Linked DNA regions of Homo sapiens: all the other regions are linked to region 2. Evidence: promoter capture Hi-C in 16 types of primary human blood cells and fetal thymus (Javierre and others, 2016). All regions are on one chromosome and are shown on one strand. Each heading gives the region's core, a stretch centred on a gene start or on the middle of the fragment in contact. The rest is flanking DNA. Distances are from core to core; before and after follow the strand shown.

Region 1 (3,339 bases), core at 346-2,845, 150 kb before region 2:
TTTGTTTGAGTGATGTCTTCCTTTTCGTTTTAGCACCCTTTTTTGAAGACCGTCCTCCAGTAGCCTCCTAAAGAAGACTGCATGGGAGATCGGGAGATTTTCTAAGAACTTTAATGTCTGAAAATTTATTTTTCAGCCCTCCAATTTTATTGATAGTTTGGGTGCCAAATAGTAGGCCAGAAATTATTTTCCTTCAGAAGTTTAGCAGCATTGCTCTAGCCTGCTAGCTTTTGGTGTTGCTATTGAGAAAACTAATTTCATTCGGATTCCTGGCCCTTTGTTTGAAGTTATCATAATTTTTCTTTACTCTGGAAACTTATACATTATCTCTTAGTCTCCCGTGTCCTGAAATTTCATCATTTTGTGCCTTGGTATAGGCATAGTTTCACCTTTTGGACTAGGGACTCAGAGAGCCTTTTCACTTGCCAACTCATGTGCTTCGAAATTCTCTTGAATTTTTAAATTGTTGATTACATCTCCTATTGTGTCTCTTCTCATTTCCTGTAACTTCAGTTATTCTGATGTTAGACCTTCTTATCTTTTCACTTTTAATTTCTTATTTATTCTACTTCATAGGAAATTTCTTCAACTCTGTCTTCCTTTTTTGTTCTATTGAATTTTCAATTTATTATAATAGTTTTAGTTTCCTAGGGCTCAATTATGTCCTCTGACATTTTCTTTTTTAATAACACCTTCATTTTATTTATTAGTTGCACTGTCTCACCTTCTTCCCTCATCCCCTGGCTATTAATGATTTGAAGTTTTCTTCTGTTTCCTCCAAATTGCCTTTTTCTGTGTGTTTTACTCTCTGTCTTTCATGTTAGAAATTTTCCCTGGAGGTCTGGGAATTCATGCTTGCTTGCTCATACTTAAAAGAAAGGGACAAAGGAGCTGATCTGAGGTCTGAGCCCAGGAATGGGGCTTGATGACCTCTTTGGGCTGTTCCATTTGATAGTCCCTCCCCCAGCTAATTTCAGTCCTTTTTAGGTCTTTTCTCTTAGGCTGGTAAGATTCCCCCTAGAGAAATACTTTTCCAGTACAGATCCAACTGCCTGAATTGTGGTTGCACCTAGTATGTACGCGTTCACTTAATCCTCTTGTTAGTTCAGCACCCTGCCCTCATGGATGTCAGGCATCCCCCATTCAGGATGCTCTCTCTTTTACCTTAGCCAAACGACTAATAACCCATCTTTTGCCTGGGGTTGGAAGGAGCAGTCACTCCACCACAGGGAATGTGGGAGAAGATTTGGGATCAAACTGTTTCTTATACAGATTTTTGGAATGAACCTCATTTTAGCACCCCTCTCATCCCTCCCATTTCTAGAGGTGCTTGGGACACCCACTTCTGAGCCTTTTGGGAACTCATCTTTCCAGACTGTTGGCTTAAATTATTTTTTTTTTCAGGTCGGCCACATCATTTACAACTTATCTACGTGCTTTTCAGCTTTCAGAACATTGTTGTTTCTGTTGACTTTATCATTTACCCTGTCCTTGCGGGCTTATGCTTTAAAAAAAAAAAAAAAATCCTGGTCCGGGTGCGGTGGCTCACGCCTGTAATCCCAGCACTTTGGGAGGCCGAGGCGGGTGGATCACAAGGTCAGGAGATCGAGACCATCCTGGCTAACATAGTGAAACTCCGTTTCTACTAAAAAATACAAAAATTAGCTAGGCATGGTGGCGGGTGCCTGTAGCCTGTAATCTCAGCTACTCAGGAGGCTGAGGCAGCAGAATCACTTGAACTTGGGAGGCAGAGGTTGCAGTGAGCCAAGATTGTGCCACTGCACTCCAGCCTGGGTGACAGAGTGAGACTCTGTCTCAAAAAAAAAAAAAAAAATCCCCTTACTCTTTAGGAGTATTTACTTTACCCAGGGCATTGGAAAAAAGAGAAAAAACAAACAAACAAAAAAAAAACTAATATGTTTATGCACTATCTCTATTTAGAGTCCACGCCATCAACACTAACATTTTAGAGCTATACCACAAACATAACTAGAACCCATCAATAAATGTATCCATGACTTTATTTGAATTGTGGAAACCTGAAATTTAAATCACTGTAACTTTTTAGCTTCATTGGGTTGCACACTACACAATGACTCAAATAAGGTGAGGCCAGTTGATTCCAACAATCGATCAAGGCCAGGTAAAAGTGCCATTTCTTATAGGGGTTCAAGAAGCAGTCTAATTCATTATATTTAATGTTCATTGATGACGTGATAAAATAAGAAATATTTTTACACAAGCGGTTGGCTAACTTTTTCTGTAATGGACCAAAGAGTAAATATTTTAGGCATTGCAAGCCAAACAGTCTCTGTCCCCAACTACTCAACTCTGCTGTTGTAGAATAAAAGTAGCCATAGACAATACATCAACAAATGAGCATAACTGTGTTCCAATAAAGCAGTATTTACCAAAACAACAGGCAGTGAGCTGAAAGTGGCCTATGGGCCATAGCTTACTGACCACTGTTTCAGAACAATATCAGTGATAAAATTACCAAAGGCAGACTTTCTTTCATGAAGCCATTAATAAGGGTCAAATAACAGAATTTTTTTGCTCCTTTTCATTTCATAAATATTTTGAGAATAGATTAAATTCCTTTCTAGAGTTGCAACATCTGAATAATTCAGACATGCATATAATTTAGCTGAGTTTGAAAAACATGAGCTATGTAAAATTACTCTTCACTTTTTAAAGAGATAATTTCATTGGCTGGCCACAAAATCAATGTAATAACTTATTATTTATTAAATATTTATTGAGTACCTAATATATGCAAGACATTGTTCTCACACTGAGGATTAAGACTAAATTAGGCAAAGTCCAGCTCTTGCTGACCAAATCTATTAAGCTCACAATTTTCACTGAACTATGGCTTTTCTTAAGGGCATTAAAACGTAATGTTTGTATAATTTCCTTTATCAAGTCTCTCAGACAGTATTTTAATCTTCATTCAACTCTGATCATCATGCTGCCTAATCTGTTTCCATCTCTAAAGGGCCTCCTGCCACACTGTTTTAGTCATAGATTTATGACGTGTGCTGTCACATTAATAATTCTCTGGCCCTGTGGCGTAATCAGGGACATCATGCATTGCTGGCATTTATTGTGTTTGCTTAAAGCTCTTGGAGTTTCTCACATACTTTTATTTTGCAACAAGTTGAGGATTTTCAACTCACGTTCCAGGGCTGTTAGTATGACAAATATTCCTGTGCAATGTCTAGTGAACTCTAAGAAAGCAACAGGCCAGTTACCCCACCTCCGCCCTCAAGGACCAGACCCATCCTGACCCAGCGTCAGGGATCCAAGTGCAGATCTTGATGGTAATTGGGAATTAAG
Region 2 (3,703 bases), core at 567-3,066:
CACCAATTATTTACAACTATCTCATGTAATCCTACAGTAATCTTGTGCGAAGGTTAGCGATACAGTCATGTGCCTGCCACATAATGACATTCAGGTCAACATTACACAGTCAACAATATATGGACTGTATGTATGACAGTAGTCCCATAAGACTATAATGCCATATTTTTACTGTATCTTTTCTATGTTTAGGTATGTTTAGATACACAAATACTCACCACGGTGTTGCAGTTGCCTCAGTATTCAGTACAGGAACATGCTGTATGGGTTTGTAGCCTAGGAACAATAGGCTATACCATATATCCTACTACACACCTAGGTTATACCAGCTAGGTTTGTCTAAGTGTACTCTAAGATGCTTGCACAACGACAAAATCACCTAACAATGCATTTCTCCGAACATATCCCCATCGTTAAGTGAAGCATGACTTTAGCAGCTCTGTTGGCCCCTTACTAAAAATCTCCAATGAACACTTTGTCTTTCTTACTTCACTGAATTCTCTCGATCTCCCACCCCTTCCCCAGTGCCACTCATCTGTCAGCCTCACTGGTAGCACCCATGAGGTAGTTGCTACCAATGAGGCTGACAGATGGGGGCAGGTTTGTGTGGCGCCTTAGAGAAAATGGAGAAAAACAAAGAGGTCCCTAACTCTTACCAGAACATGCTGAAGATCTTGGCATTAAAAGAGATCTTCGAGGGTCATTGAATTCAAAGACCCATCTATTCCTGAAGTTCAGGGCCAACATTTTGGGCAAGAAATCTTTCAGCTTACTCATGAAGTCTCCTAGAGCATAGGCAAGTCATGGACCAGCTGTTCTTGGCAATGTATCTCATATTTCAGGACTTACCTATAGCCAGAGTTTGTTATTCGAAAGTCTTTTCCTCTTTGGGAGGTCTAGGTTCTAATGGACTATCCCAGAAGGAATATAATCTATCCCTATTCCACTTCAAGTGTTTGCAGACAGTACCCCCAATCCCTTAAATCTTTTCTTCAAGTGAAATATACCCAATTCCTTCAAAGATTCCTACTGAAACGAAGAGAGGTGCTTTGGCAAAAAGCAGACTCTGGAACCAGACAGCCTAGGTTTGCATCTCAGCTTCACCACATATCAGCTGTGTGACCTGAGGTTTTCTGTGGCTCAGTTTTATCTGTAAAATGGAATGATAAGACCGCCTACCTCAAAGGGGTGCAGTTAGTGCTATGAGAATGTTAGCTGCTGTTATTCAGAAGGGCTCTACTCCACAATACCCTCCACTTAGTCAAGGCCTACCCTAAAATGTATCCTCCCTGAATAGTAATCGATAAATATTTATTGGGTGATAGGTTGCAAGGCGCAGAAACGAGCTTAATACTCAAAGCAGTACAGGCCGGTCATCACCTACATCGAAGCAACCAGAAAGTATCTTTATCCCCATCTAGATTATGTCTGGGTCCTTCCAGACTCCTACGATTAAATTGTATGCATGTGAACAACTGATGAGGTACTTAGATCTCAGTGCTTTGCAGAAAGAAAAGCCGTCTACCATTTTCACCAAATTTCGTAGTACAATTTAAGTATCTCTTGTTATCTCCCCTAGGAGTCTAAAGTGAGCTGGGGAAGGCAGGATTTTGCAAACTGACCGCCAGCATTCCCTCACCTAGTGGACCCCTGCAGGAGCCCCAGGTACTCACGCTGCGGTAGCGGCACCTGGAGCCTTAGCGGCGGGGGTGACGCGAAGAGCCGCCGGGAGCGAGTGCAGGGAGGGCAGGTTAAGAGAGTGTGGGTCCAGTAGCCTCACCGTGACTCAGCGCTTCGCGGCCGGCGGCCTAGAGGAGGCGGGAGGCGGGAGTCTACGGGTCTCGGAGGCCCTGGGGCTCCGCCCTCGGGAATGTCACTCCACTCTCGCTCCGCCCTACGCCTCTCCCAGGCCAGCTTGGCGGCCCTTTGGCCTCCCTGCCTCTCGTGCCGGGAAGAGATGCTCACTCGGGTAATTTAGGCGGCACTTGCTGTGCTCCAGGAGGAAATGTGTGGCCCGGGCAGGTGCTCTGATCGGCGCTCCGGTCGGTCTTGTGGGAAATCTGTTTTTAACTGTAGTCTCCCTGTCACCCAGCCGGCGGAGCTTGGCGGCACGGATTCCAGTGCTGCCTCCACCGCTGGGAGGCACCACTTGACATGACCTGGGACAGGTGGCTCAGTCTCTCTGTGCCTCTGGTTCCTCCTCTATAAAATGAGGATGGTGATGATAATAGTGCCAGCCTTATCGGGCTGAAATGAGAATTAAATGAGCCTGTCACATTCTAAGCACTACAGAATCGTTTGTTCCATAGATAAGTTGCCTGCTGTTTGTCAGTTAGAATTGCGAGAAAAGGAGTGCGGGAGTGGGGACGGGCAGCCATACGTCTTTATTCCTGCCTGAAGAGAAGGCACACTCTAGTGGGGAGATAATTGGTTAAGAGTTTGTATGGTGTTGGAACACAGTGGGCAGGCGTTGGAGAGTTTTTCCAGAAGAATGAGGAGCTGGCACAAGCCAGTGAGGGGATCTAGTTGATTACTAGGATTATTAACTAGTGGTACAGGCATAGCTGCAGTTTCTATTCTCTAAACACCAGAAGGCTCATTGCCTGGTTTTGAGAAAGGAAAGACAGTGGTGTCTCTAAAATAAGGTTGGAAAACTTTGTCTGTGAAGGACCAGATAGTAAATACTTTGACTTTGCAGGCCATGTACATTCTCCAGTTTGCCTTTGTAGCAAGAAAGCAGCCATAGATAACATGTAAATAAATGAATGTGGCTGTAGTTCAATAAAACTTTAATTATGAATACTGAAATATAAATTCATAAAATTCATACAATTTTGAGTTCATATAATTTTTACTTGTCATGAAATATTATCCTTCTTTTGATCTTAAATGTAAAACCACTTAAAATGTAAAAACCATTCTTAGCCCTCTGGCTATACAAAAATAGGTAGTGGGCTACCTACTCATTTTGGCTGCAGGCCTAGTATGCAGATCCCTGCTCTAAAAGAACAGGTTAGTAGAGGAACGAACACTTTTCTCTGGGCTTTTAAAATATCAGTGGGGCTTAAACCCGTCCTCATCACCTTACTTAGGCAGTTCAAGGCTAGCTGAGATAATACACATGAACATTAAAGGTGCTATGGAATAACAAAGTATTGTTTCTTATCGTCATTGTAACTAGTTCTGCAACTGTCTCCTCTACCTCTGCAGCTGTAATAGGTGTACTAGGAGTGAACGTTTCTCCTCTTTGTCTCTCAGAAGCCAGTTACAGGTAAAAGCTAAGTCCAAGGTTGTACATGGTTAGAGCAATGCAGGAATTCCATTTACAGGCCCCTGCAGAAAAAAGAAAAGAAAAGAAAAAAGAACAAGTCTGAAAAGGTAGAAGACTTAAAATGAGGAGAAACAAAGGTGAGAGAGGGAAGAATTCTTACAAATGAACAAAGGGCGTATAATGTTTCACTGTAACAGGGTCCTGTTTTGAGATGAGAAATGTGACCCTGTATATTAAGCTTTGAGCACTTTTCACACTGTCATTGACATCCAGATCAAGATGTGGAGTAGGTGGCTAAATATATGAGTGTGTAGATGGACTGTTGATCACCTTTGGAATCTTGGGAAGCATAAAGAAAACTCATGCTGATATGACAATGAACAAAGCCTTCCCTAAATGATTCCAAATAACACCATTATAATCTTTAAAGAC
Region 3 (3,204 bases), core at 11-2,510, 190 kb before region 2:
AGAAGTTACGATCAGGGGAGCCTAAAGACAGCATGACAGCCTCACATTCATTTATCCAAAAGAATGTTAATTCTGCATTCTGGAGCAGGTAATGTACTAGGACCTGGGTCTTCAAAACTTATGACATGGGTCTCTCTTCTCCCAGAGCCTACTGGGGAGGCAGAAATGAAAGACAAAAGAGCAAGAATATTGCTATACTGGAAGCATGTCCAAAATTAGTTTGGGAGCATAGGATATCCTTGAATCTGGCTTGGGGAGTAAGAAAAACCTTGCAAATGAGGTAGTATTTAGCTAAGACTTGAAGCATAAAATGTTTCAAGCTGTGAAGACCAAGAAAGAGTATGCCATTAGGAGAGAATAGAAACTGCAAATTCAGGAAGCAACAGGAAGTTATTTCCTGTTGCTTCCTGTTGCTTCCTGTGGCAGGGCCACAGTCGGATTTCTGGAACAGAAAGAACCCACAGAAAGTAGAAGCAGGAGATGGGAGGAGACAAAGGAGGACAGTAAGCTGGAGCTAGGTCATGAAAGGCCTTGATTTCCAAACAAGGAGGGCATGTCTTAGAGGAAATGGAGCACCTATGAAGTCTGCTAGGCTGCGGAGGGTCTGGAGCTAATAGATTAGCCTTTTTAGAAGCTTACTGGTAGCAGCATGGAGGGTTGATTGCAGGAGTAGGGATGTAAGACCAAAGCAAGGAGAGCCACAGAGATGTCACTATGAGTCTAGGAACAGGCTGGCATGGGCCTGCTGTGGCTGTGAATAACAGTAGGTATGAGGTATAGATGATGGAGTGCAGACAAGTTCAGGAGGTCGAGCTGGATCTGAAACAAAACAATAACTCCCAGGCTTAAGAGTAAGTAGACTGTGCTCCTAGGATTCATGTGCTGTGGAGTAGCAGCACTGCTTCAGCCATGACTCCACTGTGTGCAGAGGTCTCTGAAGTCCTAGAGTCCGGGGCCAGCGGACTTCTCCTAACCTTCATCTCCTCACCCAGGTATGAGTGCCTCCACCCTGTCCTAACACATTCTCCCTCCCCATACTACCATGTGTCCCCTTCCTTGTCCTGGACTCCATGTGACAGATGACAAGGTCAGCCTAGCTGCTGGACAACTCTGACTTCATAACCTGATTTTAACAACTTGGCTCTTACCATTTCCCTCCCTCTGATGATCACGTTCTATCTGCAAAAGTGTTGACAAAAACAGTCAAACTATAAAATATTTGAAGAGATTTATTCTGAGCCAAATATAAGTGACCAATGGCCTGTGACAAGCTCTCAGGAGATCCAGAGAACATGTGCCCAGGGTAGTCAGGGCACAGCCTAGTTTTATACATTTTAGGGAAACATGAGACATCAATCAAATACATGTAAAATGTACATTTGTTTGGCCTGGGAAGGTTGGACAACTCAAAGTGGGGGCCTGGGGCTCCAGATTATAGACAGATTGAAAATTTTTCTGATTGGCAATTGGTTGAAAGAGTTATTATCAATAGAAATGTCTGTCTGGGTTACAATAAGGGGTTGTGGAGACAAAAGTTTTATCATGTGGATGAAGCCTCCAGGTAGCAGGCTTCAGAGAGAATAGATTGTAAATGTTTCTTATCAGACTTAAGGTCTGTGTTGATGTTAAATTCTGGTCATCTTTTCCTGAGTTCCAAAAGGGAGGAGGGTATAATGAGGCATGTTCAACCCCCCTTTCCTGTCATGGCCTGAACCAGTTTTTCAGGTTAGTTTTGGAATGCCCTGGCTGAGAGGAGGGGTACATTCAGATGGTTGGAGAGGGGGTGCTTAGAATTTTATTTTTGATTTATAAAAGGAATTAGGTCCCTGGTCTGTCCTTCCCAGCCGAGTCCTGCTTTTGATCCTATGCCTTGTAACTGACCAACTGAAAGCTTCCAAAACCCAATGCCATGACCCTGAACCCCGAACTCCTACTTACACGGCCACCATCTCCTGCCAGATCTCTGGCTGCATCCTTGCTGTGGCCAGCAGCTGTGATTTCCCAGAATTGTCCCTTCATCATAAGGCCTCTTTTTGACTCCTGAATTCTGTCTATTTTCATGTCCTGAATATGACATCATTACTCTAGATCTGTGCTACATATTTCAAACTGGGCATCTAATAAGAGTTAGAAAAAGTCTTTTCATTTTTCTTTTCCTTTTGAGAAAATAAGAAAAAACAGACTAGTCCACAAGGTGGCAGAAGTGTGCTAGAAAAAACTGTTACGGTGCAAAATCTCAGAATCCCTGAAATTGTAGAAATGTGATGCTGGAAAGGCCTGAAAGATCATCTAGAGTGGATCACCTCAATTGTGCATGAGAAAATGGAGGAGTAGAATGTTCAAATACTTTTTAAGACTGGTTGTCAGTGACAGCCAGCAGTGTAACCAAGAGCTCCTGAATCTTGGTTTAATGTTTTACTCACATTTACTCACATTAGCTTAATGTTTTACTCATATCGGTTTAATGTTTTACTCACATCGATCATATTATCTAAATGTAAAATAAAGTTTATAAAAGTAGACAAATACATTTTTTAACAGTGTATAAGAGTAAAGAAGTAGGGGTGTAAAAGAAAAAGTTGAACTTTTGTATAAAGAATGCCCCCTTACACATTTAACCATATTATTGAAGCTAATATGCTTATTAAGTATAGTTAGTGCAATGTGGGATCCTGGAACAGAAATAGGACATGAGAGGAAAAACTGGTGAAATCACAATAGTGTGCAGTTTAGTCAGTGGTATTGTATCAATGTTAACTTCGTATTTTTGACTAATGTACCATAGCTATGTAAGATGTCAATATTAAAGGAAGTTGGGTGAAGGGTACAGTGTATATGGGAACTGTCTGTATCCTTTTCAACTCTTCTTTAAAATTATACAAAAATTTAAAAAGCCTATTAAAAATATACCAATGAAAGTATTGAGGTGGGAGACTGAGAGAGAAGAGGTGGGTGGGAGACTGAGAGAGAAGAGGTGGGTGCAAGACGTTTCATTGTGCACCTTTTTAATTTTATTTATTTATTTATTTTATTGAGACAGAGTTTCACTCTTTCACCCAGGCTGGAGTGAAGTGACGCGATCTCGGTTCACTGCAACCTCCACCCCGCCAGGTTCAAACGATTTTCCTGCCTCAGCCTCCCAAGTAGCTGGGATTATAGGCGCCCACCACCACGCCTGGCTAATTTTTGTACTTTTAGTACAGA

What was found. The method cuts DNA at HindIII sites, captures the fragments that hold promoters and counts their contacts. A CHiCAGO score of 5 or more calls a contact.
Region 1: a fragment that was not itself captured here is called in contact with the fragment with the promoter of PIR in region 2 in 1 of 17 cell types (neutrophils); the score reaches 5.7 in neutrophils.
Region 3: a contact is called between a fragment that was not itself captured here and the fragment with the promoter of PIR in region 2, in 2 of 17 cell types (M2 macrophages and endothelial precursors). The highest score is 6.2, in M2 macrophages.

What each region holds. Positions count from the first base shown.
Region 1 is chrX:15,340,114-15,343,452 of GRCh38, forward strand. No RefSeq gene overlaps it. Among named protein-coding and RNA genes, the nearest start is that of PIGA, 6.3 kb to the left of the region's middle. The HindIII fragment of the contact is 3,884 bases long and covers 1-3,339 here.
Region 2 is chrX:15,491,517-15,495,219 of GRCh38, forward strand. PIR (pirin) reads right to left here and starts at 1,817. Exons shown (of 10, transcript NM_001018109.3): 1 at 1,674-1,817. RefSeq lists enhancers at 1,227-1,729, 1,730-2,233. The HindIII fragment of the contact is 4,696 bases long and covers 1-3,507 here.
Region 3 is chrX:15,297,947-15,301,150 of GRCh38, forward strand. The region is part of intron 2 of ASB11 (ankyrin repeat and SOCS box containing 11); the gene reads right to left. Among named protein-coding and RNA genes, the nearest start is that of ASB11, 16 kb to the right of the region's middle. RefSeq lists an enhancer at 281-575. The HindIII fragment of the contact is 1,257 bases long and covers 633-1,889 here.